2 separate regions of the Homo sapiens genome follow, and region 1 is linked to region 2. Evidence: promoter capture Hi-C in 16 types of primary human blood cells and fetal thymus (Javierre and others, 2016). All regions are on one chromosome and are shown on one strand. The core of a region is centred on a gene start or on the middle of the fragment in contact, and the rest is flanking DNA. Distances in the headings are between cores, read along the strand shown. Region 1 overlaps BPIFB4 (BPI fold containing family B member 4). Region 2 holds the start of EFCAB8 (EF-hand calcium binding domain 8).

The links. The method cuts DNA at HindIII sites, captures the fragments that hold promoters and counts their contacts. A CHiCAGO score of 5 or more calls a contact.
Region 1: a fragment that was not itself captured here is called in contact with the fragment with the promoter of EFCAB8 in region 2 in 1 of 17 cell types (megakaryocytes); the score reaches 5.2 in megakaryocytes.

Annotation. Positions count from the first base shown.
Region 1 is chr20:33,100,561-33,106,064 of GRCh38, reverse strand. It overlaps BPIFB4 (BPI fold containing family B member 4), which reads right to left. Exons shown (of 18, transcript NM_182519.3): 15 at 3,051-3,093; 16 at 1,192-1,255. Among named protein-coding and RNA genes, the nearest start is that of BPIFB4, 24 kb to the right of the region's middle. The HindIII fragment of the contact is 184 bases long and covers 3,926-4,109 here.
Region 2 is chr20:32,856,080-32,861,321 of GRCh38, reverse strand. EFCAB8 (EF-hand calcium binding domain 8) reads right to left here and starts at 2,399. Exons shown (of 27, transcript NM_001143967.2): 1 at 2,316-2,399. It overlaps LOC119746555 (a long non-coding RNA gene), which reads right to left and starts at 4,690. Exons shown (of 1, transcript NR_171378.1): 1 at 2,571-4,690. RefSeq lists an enhancer at 1,720-2,532. The HindIII fragment of the contact is 6,288 bases long and covers 1-4,032 here.

The sequences.
Region 1 (5,504 bases), core at 2,768-5,267, 240 kb before region 2:
TCTACCCTGCAGGAGTATCTTCAGCACTTCCCAAACTTGCTCGGCCATGGAACGCTTTTTGCAGGGTATTTTGTGGGACTGCTTTACGGAGCTCACTTTGGGGACTATGGACCTTGTCCAAGCTCTCATTTTGAAAATGGTGAATTGCACTTCAGTATGATTAAAAGACTCGCCCCCAAGTTCACACCACTCTTAGTGATTAAGCCAGGCAAGACGCTCCGTCTCTTCCCTCCCAGGTCAGCCCAGCCCAGCCCCTGACCCCATCCTCTCACAGAGAAACCACCACTTTCCCCACCAGTGAGACTCGGCTTCCTCTGACCACAGGGCCCAGAACAAGGGTTTGTTTGACATCAAGATGGCTCCAACAGAACCCCCGCTGGTGTAGCTGATGACATTGGCTGGGATGTGCCAGCCCTCCTTGTCTTCTCATCCAGGAAGCAGGAGTGGGAGAGAGTCTGGGGCCCAGTGACCCCAGGGCTTGGGCAGTTTCCCAGTCCCAGTATGTGAGTAGCCAATGACCCCCATAGTTCAACAAGCAGCCTTCCCAGTAACATTCCTGAGACGCCCCAGAGAGCAAAGCAAGCTCAGTCTACTCTGTTTATAAAGTTGGGCAAGAAAACCTCCTAACTTGATGTGGTTCCCTAGGGGGGCAGATTCTGGGCTAGGAAGGAGGCTGGGGATGTCGATAAGAGCAACTTTAGCTGTATCTGCGCCAATGGAACTTTTCACAATAAGAATGTATTCCTGTAGTTCCTGTATCATTAAAAATAAATACATGTTTAAATATGAGTCAGGAAAGATCTCAATCATATGGGAAAACAATGGAGAAAAAGAGTTTAGAAGGAAATATGCTCAGATGTTGAGATTCATTGCCTCTGCGAGGTGAGTTTTTTTTAAATTGTTTTATATTTTCTAAAACTTGCACACACACAATGTTAATACATAATCGGAATTTTCATAGATAATCAGAAAAATAAAACAATCAGCCAAACAAGAAAGAAGCAAATAAGGAAGGTGCTGGAACTTTGGGGGCCACGTTTGGATTTGGAGGCTTTCATCGACACGCTTCAAAGGAAGTGCTCAGAAATACTATTGAGGTAGGATAGATGCACATCCAGCATGCCCAACAAGCCAGTATCCCCCAGTACCCAAGCCACAAGCTCCCAGAGAGGCACAGGCACCCGCTCTCACCGTTCATTGCGGGCATGAATGCCAGGTCAAAAATCTTCTCCACCAGCACCTCCATGAGGCCAATCTGCAGAGGAAGAAGGAGGACAGAGCCTGGGCAGGGGGTTTGCTCAGCTCCAGAGGGCCCCTTGGGTCTGCTCCCCTGGCTCAAGGTGGAGACACAGACCTGCTCTGGGAGAGTCTAGGTTCTGGCAGTCAGAACCCCTGAGACCCCAGAATTTCTCACCGGCAGCCTTAAGGTGCCCCCCATCAACTTGCACATTGTGCAGATGGGCAGACTGAGGCCCAGCATGGGTGGTGGCCCAAGGCCCCTATGAAGCAGGGATTGAGGGAGGCCTAGTTCCTCCCCTGGGAGGCACAGAGCACAGGTTTCAGGGTGGCCTGGCCCCGATGGCACTGTCATGGCATCACAGAAGTCCCAATGGCCCTGGAGCCAACACCCCAGGTTCCCATCCCAGCTCAGTCTCCGTGGGCCTCTGGGCAGGCTCCTTCACCTCTCTAACCCTCAGCTTCCTCAGCTGTAAAATGGGTCAGTGAGCTGAGTTTGCAAGGATGCGGTGAGGATGGTGGGTAGATCACGTAAAACTCCTGGCCTTGAGCCTTTTCATATGTTACCTCCCTTAACTTCTCTAAGCCTTGGTTTCCACATCTGAAAACAGGAGTGAGTAACCCTTGCCTCATAGGGTGGTTATAAAAATCAGACATAAGCCCCTATATGTAACATGCCTGATGTTCCAGTCTGCAGAGGGTGAGGGCATGGACTCACTTTCCGGCAGTGCCTCTTCCTAGCTCTGTTGCCTTGGGCAAGTCACTTGAGCTTACCTTCCTTATTTGGAAGAATGGGTGTAATAATAATACCCAAATCATAACACGGTGGTAAGGATTAAATGAGAAAACCTCATTAAAAGAGAAAAAAAAGCATAATTCAGTGCCTAGGGCCCATCTCGATAGCTTCATTAATTCATTAATTTTACACTGTCAGCCCCTTTCTTCACTTGGAGTCCAGAGATTTCAGTTCTAATCCCAACTCTGCCCCAACCAGCTGGGAAGCCTTGGGCAGTTTATCCTTATAAAATGAAGCTGGCAAGATCGGCTTCACAGGCTGTAGCTTTTTGGGTTAGAAAAGCTATAAAATTAGCAACACAATGAATGGGTTTGACTTTTTCTGCACATGTGGAGATCTCATCCAAGCTTGTCCCAGAAAGCTAGCAGATGCTTAGTTGTCAATTTATAAAAAGCGGAGGTGGGGGGGTGGGGAGGAAGGAGTGTTTCTGAAGCCTTAGGTGGGGGTGGGGCACCCAAGAGTGAACAAAGAGATAAAACAGGACCCAACGCTAGAATGTGAGCATCTCAGATTTCTGGACCCTTGGAAAAGCAGAATTCCACAACCCAGGGGCAAGAAGGGAGGTTAGAAATGAACTCAAATTGTATTCATTTTACAGATGGGGAAACTGAGGCTCAGAGTGGGTTGATATCGCTCAAGGTCACACAGGAGTCAGTGGGCTCCTAACTCCAGAAGGAAAGTGGTCCTGTAGGACAAGGCTGCCCACTGTGCCTCCCCACCCTGAAATGGAGCGATTTGGGCCAAGTGGCCCCCCATGGGGCAGCCAGTTAACATGGGACAGCACCCGAGGCAGAGTAGAAGGAGCTGTGAGTCTGTCCTCTGCCCCTCACTTGCCTTGTGGGCCTCAGTTTCTACATCTGTCCATCTGCAAAATGAGGGCTGATAGTGTTGACGGGAGCACTTTGGAATTCACAAACTCCCCATGCCCAGCCAGCCTCACAGGAACACCATTCCCGGAAGACACGTCCTGGGCTCCTTCCCAGAAGATCTTGCCCTGGGAACTAAACATGGTACTTACATCAAAGTTGCCCACGTTTGAGGTTCTGAGGTTGAGGCTGGTCCTGTAGACGAAGAAAACAGCCTGTGAGAAGCAGGGATTGCCTGAAAATCATAAGGCTCTTGCATTGCAACAAATTGTGAGAAGCCCCTCCACTATCCTCACGATCACTCTCCACCTGCAGGGATTTAATAAGAACAATGCTGGCTCTCACATGCTGAGCGCTAACTACACGTCGGACACCATGCTAAGGGCTTCATGCACCACACGGAGAAGGCTCAAATCATAGCTTTGCCACCTACTAGCTTTGTGACCTTAGTCAAGGTACTTTACCTTTCTATGCCTCAGTTTCTTCATCTGCAAAGTGGGTGGCTGCTAGGACTAAAGGGGATATTCCCATAAAGCGCTGCTCCAGAGCCCTGCCATAGGTGCATGAGTGATCACCATCACCTCGTGTAATCCTTCCAGCCCTCCAGTGGAGCAGGCTCCAGGGTAATTTACTGCAGCCACAGAGCCAGGGAGGGATAGCCTAGGCCTCGCACCCTGAACCTGCACTCTCACTGTTGTGCTGTTCTGAGATGGGAGGCTGAGGCCGGGGTTTGAGGTCTCGCTCTGCTCTATAAGGGCCTCCGTCTTGCTGCACCTGAATCTCAATACAGCTGACAGTCCTACCCGAGAGAGGCCAGACCGGGCTTGCCCGTGGGGCGGAAATCGTTCGGGGCTGTTCAGAAGCATCAGCTCGGTGTCCAGCAGGAGGGAAATAAAGGTACCTTCTAAGGAAACAAGACTCTCCGCTTGGGACATGTTTTCTTCCTTCCTGACTTCCTTACCCAGCCTCTCTCCCTCTCAGGCACCGCACCCCACAGTATCCGTGCCCTTTTCCTCTCTGCGAAGCTTGCCCATGCTGCTCTCCCTGCAGGAAATACCCAGCTCTTGCCCAGCTGGCCCCTACTCCTTATCCAGGCTGCAGGCTGAATCTTGCCTCCTTGGGAACTCCTGGATGTCTCTGATGTGCACTATATTAATCACGAGTAACTGCCATTGGTGGGCTTAAGAAATATTGGTTGTAAAAGAAAAGCTTACAATGATCTAGTCACATGCTAAAAATTTTACATATGACCTCATTTAATCTTGAAATGGAAATAATGATAGTACTTATTTCCATAGGCTTATATCAAGAATTAAAGGAAGGCCGGGTGCAGTGGCTCATGCCCATAATCCCAGAACTTTGGGAGGCCGAGGCAGGCAGATCACTTGAGCCCAGGAGTTCAAGACCAGGCTGGCCAACATGGCGAAACCCCGTCTCTACTAGAAATATAAAAATTAGTCTGGCGTGGTGGTGCATGCCTGTAATCTCAGCTACTTGGGAGGCTGAGGTAGGAGGATCGCTTGAGCTGGGGAGGTCAAGGCTGCAGTGAGCCGTGACTGTACTCTAGCCTGGGCAACAGAGCGAGCTCCTGGCTCAAAAGAAAAGAAAAAGAAAGAATTAAATGAAGACACACCTAGGACTTAGCCAAATACCTGGCACACGGAAAGCATCCAATGAATAATAATTATTCTTTTTATGAATCTTACGAGGTAGTGACTATTATCCCCATTTTCAGATGAGAAAACTGAGGCTCAGAGTGAAGTTGGTTGGCCAATATCACACAGTCAGTCAGTGGTCACATCAGGATTTGAACCCATATTGCTTGGCTCCAAAGCGCATGATTGTACCCATCCAATGCAGCAGGTCACATGAACCTGGGTTGGCTCACAGCCCCTCTATGTACTTGCTGGGTGGCCCTGGGTAAGTAAATCCACTGTTTCCAGCCCTAGTTTTCTCCCTACAAAGGGAGAATAATAGCCCTGACTTCCACTGGGACCATCAGAGGGGAGAAACAAGATAATACGTACACTTCAAGTACATAGAGCAGAGCCTGGTATGTCATCATCACCAGCATCCTCCTCCTCCTCCTCGTCCTCCTCCTCATCATCATCACTGTTACTTAGAGACAGGGTCTTGCTCTGTTGCCCAGGCTGGAGTGCAGTGGCACAATCATAGCTCACCACAACCTCAAGCTCCTGGGCTCCTGCCTCAGCCTCCTGAGTAGCTGGGATTACAGGCACATGGATACCAAGCCCGGCTAATTTTTTCTAGGACTACACGTGTGTACCTATGCCCAGCTAATTTTTCTATTTTTGTAGAGATGGTGTCTTGCTATGTTTCTCAGTCTGGTCTCAAACTCCTGGCCTCAATCAGTCCTCCAGCCTCGGCCTCCCAAAGCACTGAGACTACAGGCATGGGCTACTGTGCCCACACCCCAGCATCATTATTACTGACTGTTGATTTTGGCAGTAGTTTCTTTCTAAGTTCACGGCTTCACCCACCTTGCCTGGCTTGTGACAGTGGTAATGGTAGGCATGAGCCATCGTCACCTTTGCAGCCCCTTGGGTTTACCCAGCCCTGATGGCCACACAGGAGACCTCTACCCG
Region 2 (5,242 bases), core at 1,150-3,649:
AACGCAACTCCGTCTCAAAAAAATAAAATAAAATGTGTTTCAGTGGAGTGGGTAGGATGGTGGGTAGTAATTTAAATGACTCCTTTGTGAAAGGCCACTGTTGAAGAGTGATTGCTGCAGCATCATTCATAGGAGCAAAAACCAAAAGTGAACCATTATAGACACAGAAATGAACAAATCAGTGCATCTGCACCTAGGACGTCACCCAAACATCAGAAGGATGAATCTGACTTCCAGCAGCTAAGAGAGATTTCCATGAAGTACTAATAAGAAAAGCACGATGCAGGCCAGGCACAGTGGCTCATACCTGTAATGCCAACACTTGAGGCCAAGGTGGGAAGATCGCTTGAGCCCAGGAATTTGAGACCAGCCTGGGCAACATGGTGAAACCCCATCTGTACAAAACATACAAAAAATTATCTGGGTATGGTGACACTCCCCTGTAGTCCCAGCTACTCAAGAGGGTGAGATGGGAGGATTACCTGCATCCAGAAGTTTGAGGCCGTAGTGAACTGTAATCACAACACTGCACTCCAGGGCCTGGGTGAGAGAATGAGACCTTGTCTCAAAAAAATAAATAAATAAAAAAACCAAGATGCAGAAAAGGGTGCACACTATGATGCCAATTTTTATAAAAGAATGAAAAAATAGCCTGGGCACAATGGCTGACGTCTGTAATCCCAGCTACTCGGGAGACTGAGGCACGAGAATCGCTTGAACCCAGGAGGTGGAGGTTGCAGTGAACTAAGACTGTGCCATTGCACTCCAGCCTAGGCAAAAGAGTAAGACTCCATCTCAAAAAAAAAAAAAAAAAAAAAAAAAAAAAAAGTTACCACCATCAGCGATGGAACAAAATGACATCCATCACACACCTCCTGATCCGATACATGCAGGGCACAATGCTTCAGTAGTATTATTGCCAAAAAAATACATGATCTGAATCTAATCATAAGGAAACAGACAAACCCACATTACAGGATATTCTACAAAATAACTGGGTTTTTTTTTGCTTTTATTTTTGAGAGTCTCACTCTGTCACAGGCTGGAATGCAGTGGCTCAATCTCAGCTCACCGCAACCTCCACCTCCCAGATTCTGATGATTCTCATGCCTCAGCCTCCTCAGTAGCTGGGATTATAGGTGCACGCCACCATGCCCAGCTAACTTTCGTATTTTTAGTAGAAACAGGATTTCTCCATGTTGGCCAGGCTGGTCTCAAACTCCTTGGCCTCAAGTGCTTTCCGCCCGCCTTGGCTTCCCAAAGTGCTGGGATTACAGGCGTGAGTCACCGCGCCTGGCCAAAATAAAATGCCATGTAAACCAAAGAAAGGCTAAGGAACTGTTAGAGATGAAAGGTGACTCAAGAGACCCAACAACTAAAGGCAATGCACGATTCTGAATTGAATCCGATTGGGAAAAAACAAAAATGCTGCAAGGGCTGTTATTTGGTGAAATTATGTAAAATTTGAACATGGACTCTATATTATTAGATAGCATATTAATGTTTTCTGCTTTTGATAACTGTATTGTGGTTATGAGAATGTCCTTGTTTCAGGAAATGTACACTGAAAAGTATTTAGGGGTAAAAGGGCATGATGTCTGTAATTCTCAAATGGTTTAACAAGTAACATGTATAATAACACAAATGTGGCAAAATGTTCACAATTAGTCTATCTGGACAAAGGGAAGTTCTTTGTAGTAGTCTTACAACTATTTATATATTTTTAATTATTTCAAAACTAAATATTTTGTAAGATAAATGTCTTTCACCAGGAGAAAGTGGTTCTATGTATGTTCATGAACAGAGGTAAAACGCCAAATGGGAAAAAAAGTGCTGGTTGCTGCCAACAGAGACCACCCAAAAGAAAAGGGCAAAAGCAAGAGGGGAGAGGCCAAGACAAGTACCATTCCTCCAACTCTGAAGGGAAGGAAGGGAAGGCTGAGATGTAAAACTCGGTTGATATTTAGAATTGGAGAACAGGTCAGATCAGAAGTCACATCCATCTGCCTCAATCTATTCCCTAAAGTTGACCTGTCCGGAGCTGACGGAAGAGGGGCAGGGCAAGGCAGGTGGGAGAGTACCATCCAGAACAGGGGTGAGAATTCAGAGCAGCCACTAGGGGAACATGCTAGGGATGAGAGGGGAACGAGTGGTTTGTACGAATTTGTAGAGGCAGATGACTTAAGGATACATGCATTGAAAGCCAGCCAGGACACAGATAAGAGCTGCTCTCCAGCCTTGGAGGTCAGGCAGAGGTCTTCAGCAGAGGTATCCAATCTTTTGGAGAGCAACTTTCACCTAAAACCCTCACTCACCCTGACTCAATTTGATCTCCTCAGTTAATCTTGCTGGCAAAGTCTGGCAAAGTGCTAACACTTTCCAACTCCCATCTCAACAAAGACATTGGCAGCTGTTCCCAGTCCAAGACAGCTCCTTTATGAAGTCGAGATGGAACTCTGGGTCTGCTGGTCATATTTAGAACTAGGGAAATGAGACAGAATTCCGTATGAAGAACATAAATGAAGCATCAGAACCCGTCCCACAAACCATAATCACAGAACCATTTTTCATCCAATTTGAAACATTTCTTTTATTGAAGAAGTTGAACTTACAGCAGACAGTGAAAGGAGTTACAGCACTCCAGGACAAACACAGACATAAAATAATACATAAAACAAGTAGCGGGAAACTGGAAGATGCCAGGGAGTCCTCTTATAAAAGCAGGGTTCACCAAAACCAGAAGGCCAACTGGCTCCAGGACAGCGAAAGGCACAGTGGCTCCTCTGCTCCTCTGCCTTCTGCCCCATTTGAAATGGGGGACTTACAAATCCAGACTTCAGGGCAGGCCTAGACTTGATGCAGCCACTGCAATCTTGGTCCATGGTGCAATTTGGCAGACAAGTTGGTGAAAGGTAAGTTGTCTCCAGAGATTTCAATCAGGGACGTGGCTTCCAGATGTTAAAAGATACCCAGCTAAGTCACAAGGAAGTGGATGTTTTCAAATGCTAAGTGACCACCAAACAAAACATTCTCCCTGGGCCTTCACCACTCAGAGAACACCAACATACAAAAACAAAAGTCTGTTCCCATTTCATCAATAATGGAGTTTTAAGGATTTTGTCATAGTGTAGAATATTAAGAATGGATGAATAAAAAGTCAAAAAAGGTGCAGAGGTCCTATAAATCAGGGTTTATTAGACTAGATATTAATAAATTGGAAGGGTTTAAAAAAAAAAAGGCTGTTGGCCCTACATATGACAGTTTCCCATTGTTTCTTAGCTTAGTATATTTATTTTCCAACACAATGTTAGCAATTCTTACAGCAGTTCTTGCATTTTTCCAATAACATTTTTATTAATCAAATGGTATATATTTTTCACTATAACCTATTTTCACTGATTAATACATTTATCAGTATTTTAATGTGGCCTAAAATATGCTAAATTCTGTCACAATAAATATGTTTTTCCCTCCCTGGGGAGAAACACAAGTAAAAAAAGGAAAATATTAAGATGCATTCCACTTTTTAGTTAAGGAAAAGTTCAGAAAACTCCCATCTTTTTAAAAAAGAATGAAAATATGATCCTAAGTAACTCAGGTTAGAAAAACAGTAACAGAGCCAGGCGCAATGGCTCACGCCTATAATCCCAGCACTTTGGGAAGCTGAGGCAGGAGGATCACTTGAGCCCAGGAGTCTGAGATCAGCCCAGGCAACATAGTGAGACCATGTCTCTATTAAAAAAAAAAAAAAATTAAAGAGAGAAAAAAACAGTAATAATAAAACAAGTGGGGAGGAGGACATTTAGAAGAAAAATCTAGATAAACCTCTGCACAAAAATAATTTTGGAAAAAAGTTAGAAGTCCTACCTGAGATTAATTCAGGCGTCACTGGCTAATGCTAAGGGAATTCTGATTGGAAGGCAGCAACTCAGGGGCCCAAGGACCACATTAACAGATGCAATTACCTGCCCTAGAGAAGGCGCTTCCTCACACTCCCACTTAGCTGCAATGCCAATACTGTCCTTTCAAGCTTCAACCCTGTGATTTTAAGATATCAAAACTTGTATCCTTCTTCAGCTCTATGTAATTTGTCAAAAATTTCAAGATGCAACTCTATAGCCAAAAAGAGAGCCTTTTACTTTTTCAAACAAAAATAAACAAGAGAAGTCACTGACTGCTAAAACTAGAAGGGACCCTCAAGATTGGTATCACAGGATCACACCTTCATCTGGCAGTAGGTTGAGGTCAGTAACTCAGCTCACATGACATTTAAAACCACACAACACTACCAGAGAGAGCTACAGGTTCAGATGCCAATGGTTTCAAAAAACCATGATTCAGGCCGGGTGCAGTGGTTCACGCCTGTAAACCCAGCACTTTGGGAGGCCGAGGCAGGTGGATCACAAGGTCAGGAGTTTGAGACCAGCCTGGCCAACATGGTGAAATCCTGTTTCTACTAAAAACACAAAAATTAGCCAGGCACGGTGGTGCGTGCCTGTAATCTCAGCTACTCGGGAGGCTGAGGCAGGACAATCGCTTGAATCTGGGAGGCGGAGGTTGCAATTAGCCAAGATCGCACCACAGCACTCCAGCCCGGGCGACAACAGCAACACTCCGTCTTGAAAAAAAAAAAAACAAAAAAACCACGATTCAAGAAAAAGGCAGATTCTCCTGTGTTCAGCAGCTACTTTAAAAAAAAAAAAAAAAAAAAAGGCACTTCTTGGCCAGGAGTGGTGGAGGACTGCTTGAGCCCAGGAGTTTGAGACCAGCCTGGGGAACATAGCCAGACCCTGTCTCTACAAAAATAAAATTAGCTGAGCAGTTCCAGCTCCTTGGGAGGCTGAGGTGGGAGAATCACTTGAGCCCGGGAAGTCAAGGCTGCAGTGAGCCGTGACCATGCCACTGCACTCCAGCCTGGGTGACAGAGCGAGACCCTGCCTGGAAAAAAAACAACAACAACAACAAAAAAGCACTTCCTAATGATTGGGGAAAATATTAAATATTAGGTCAGAGAGTTAAACACTCTTAGAAATTTTTAAGAATACATTTATTTCACTCAACACTGAATCTTAAAATTATTACTTCTTCAGACCAGGCACGGTGGCTCAGGCCTGTAATCCCAGCACTTTGGGAGGCGGAGGAGGGCGGATCACTTGAGCTTAGGAGTTGCAGACCAACCTGCACAGCATAGTCAAACCCCATCCCTACCAAAAAAAAAAAAAAAAAAGAAAATTATTACTTC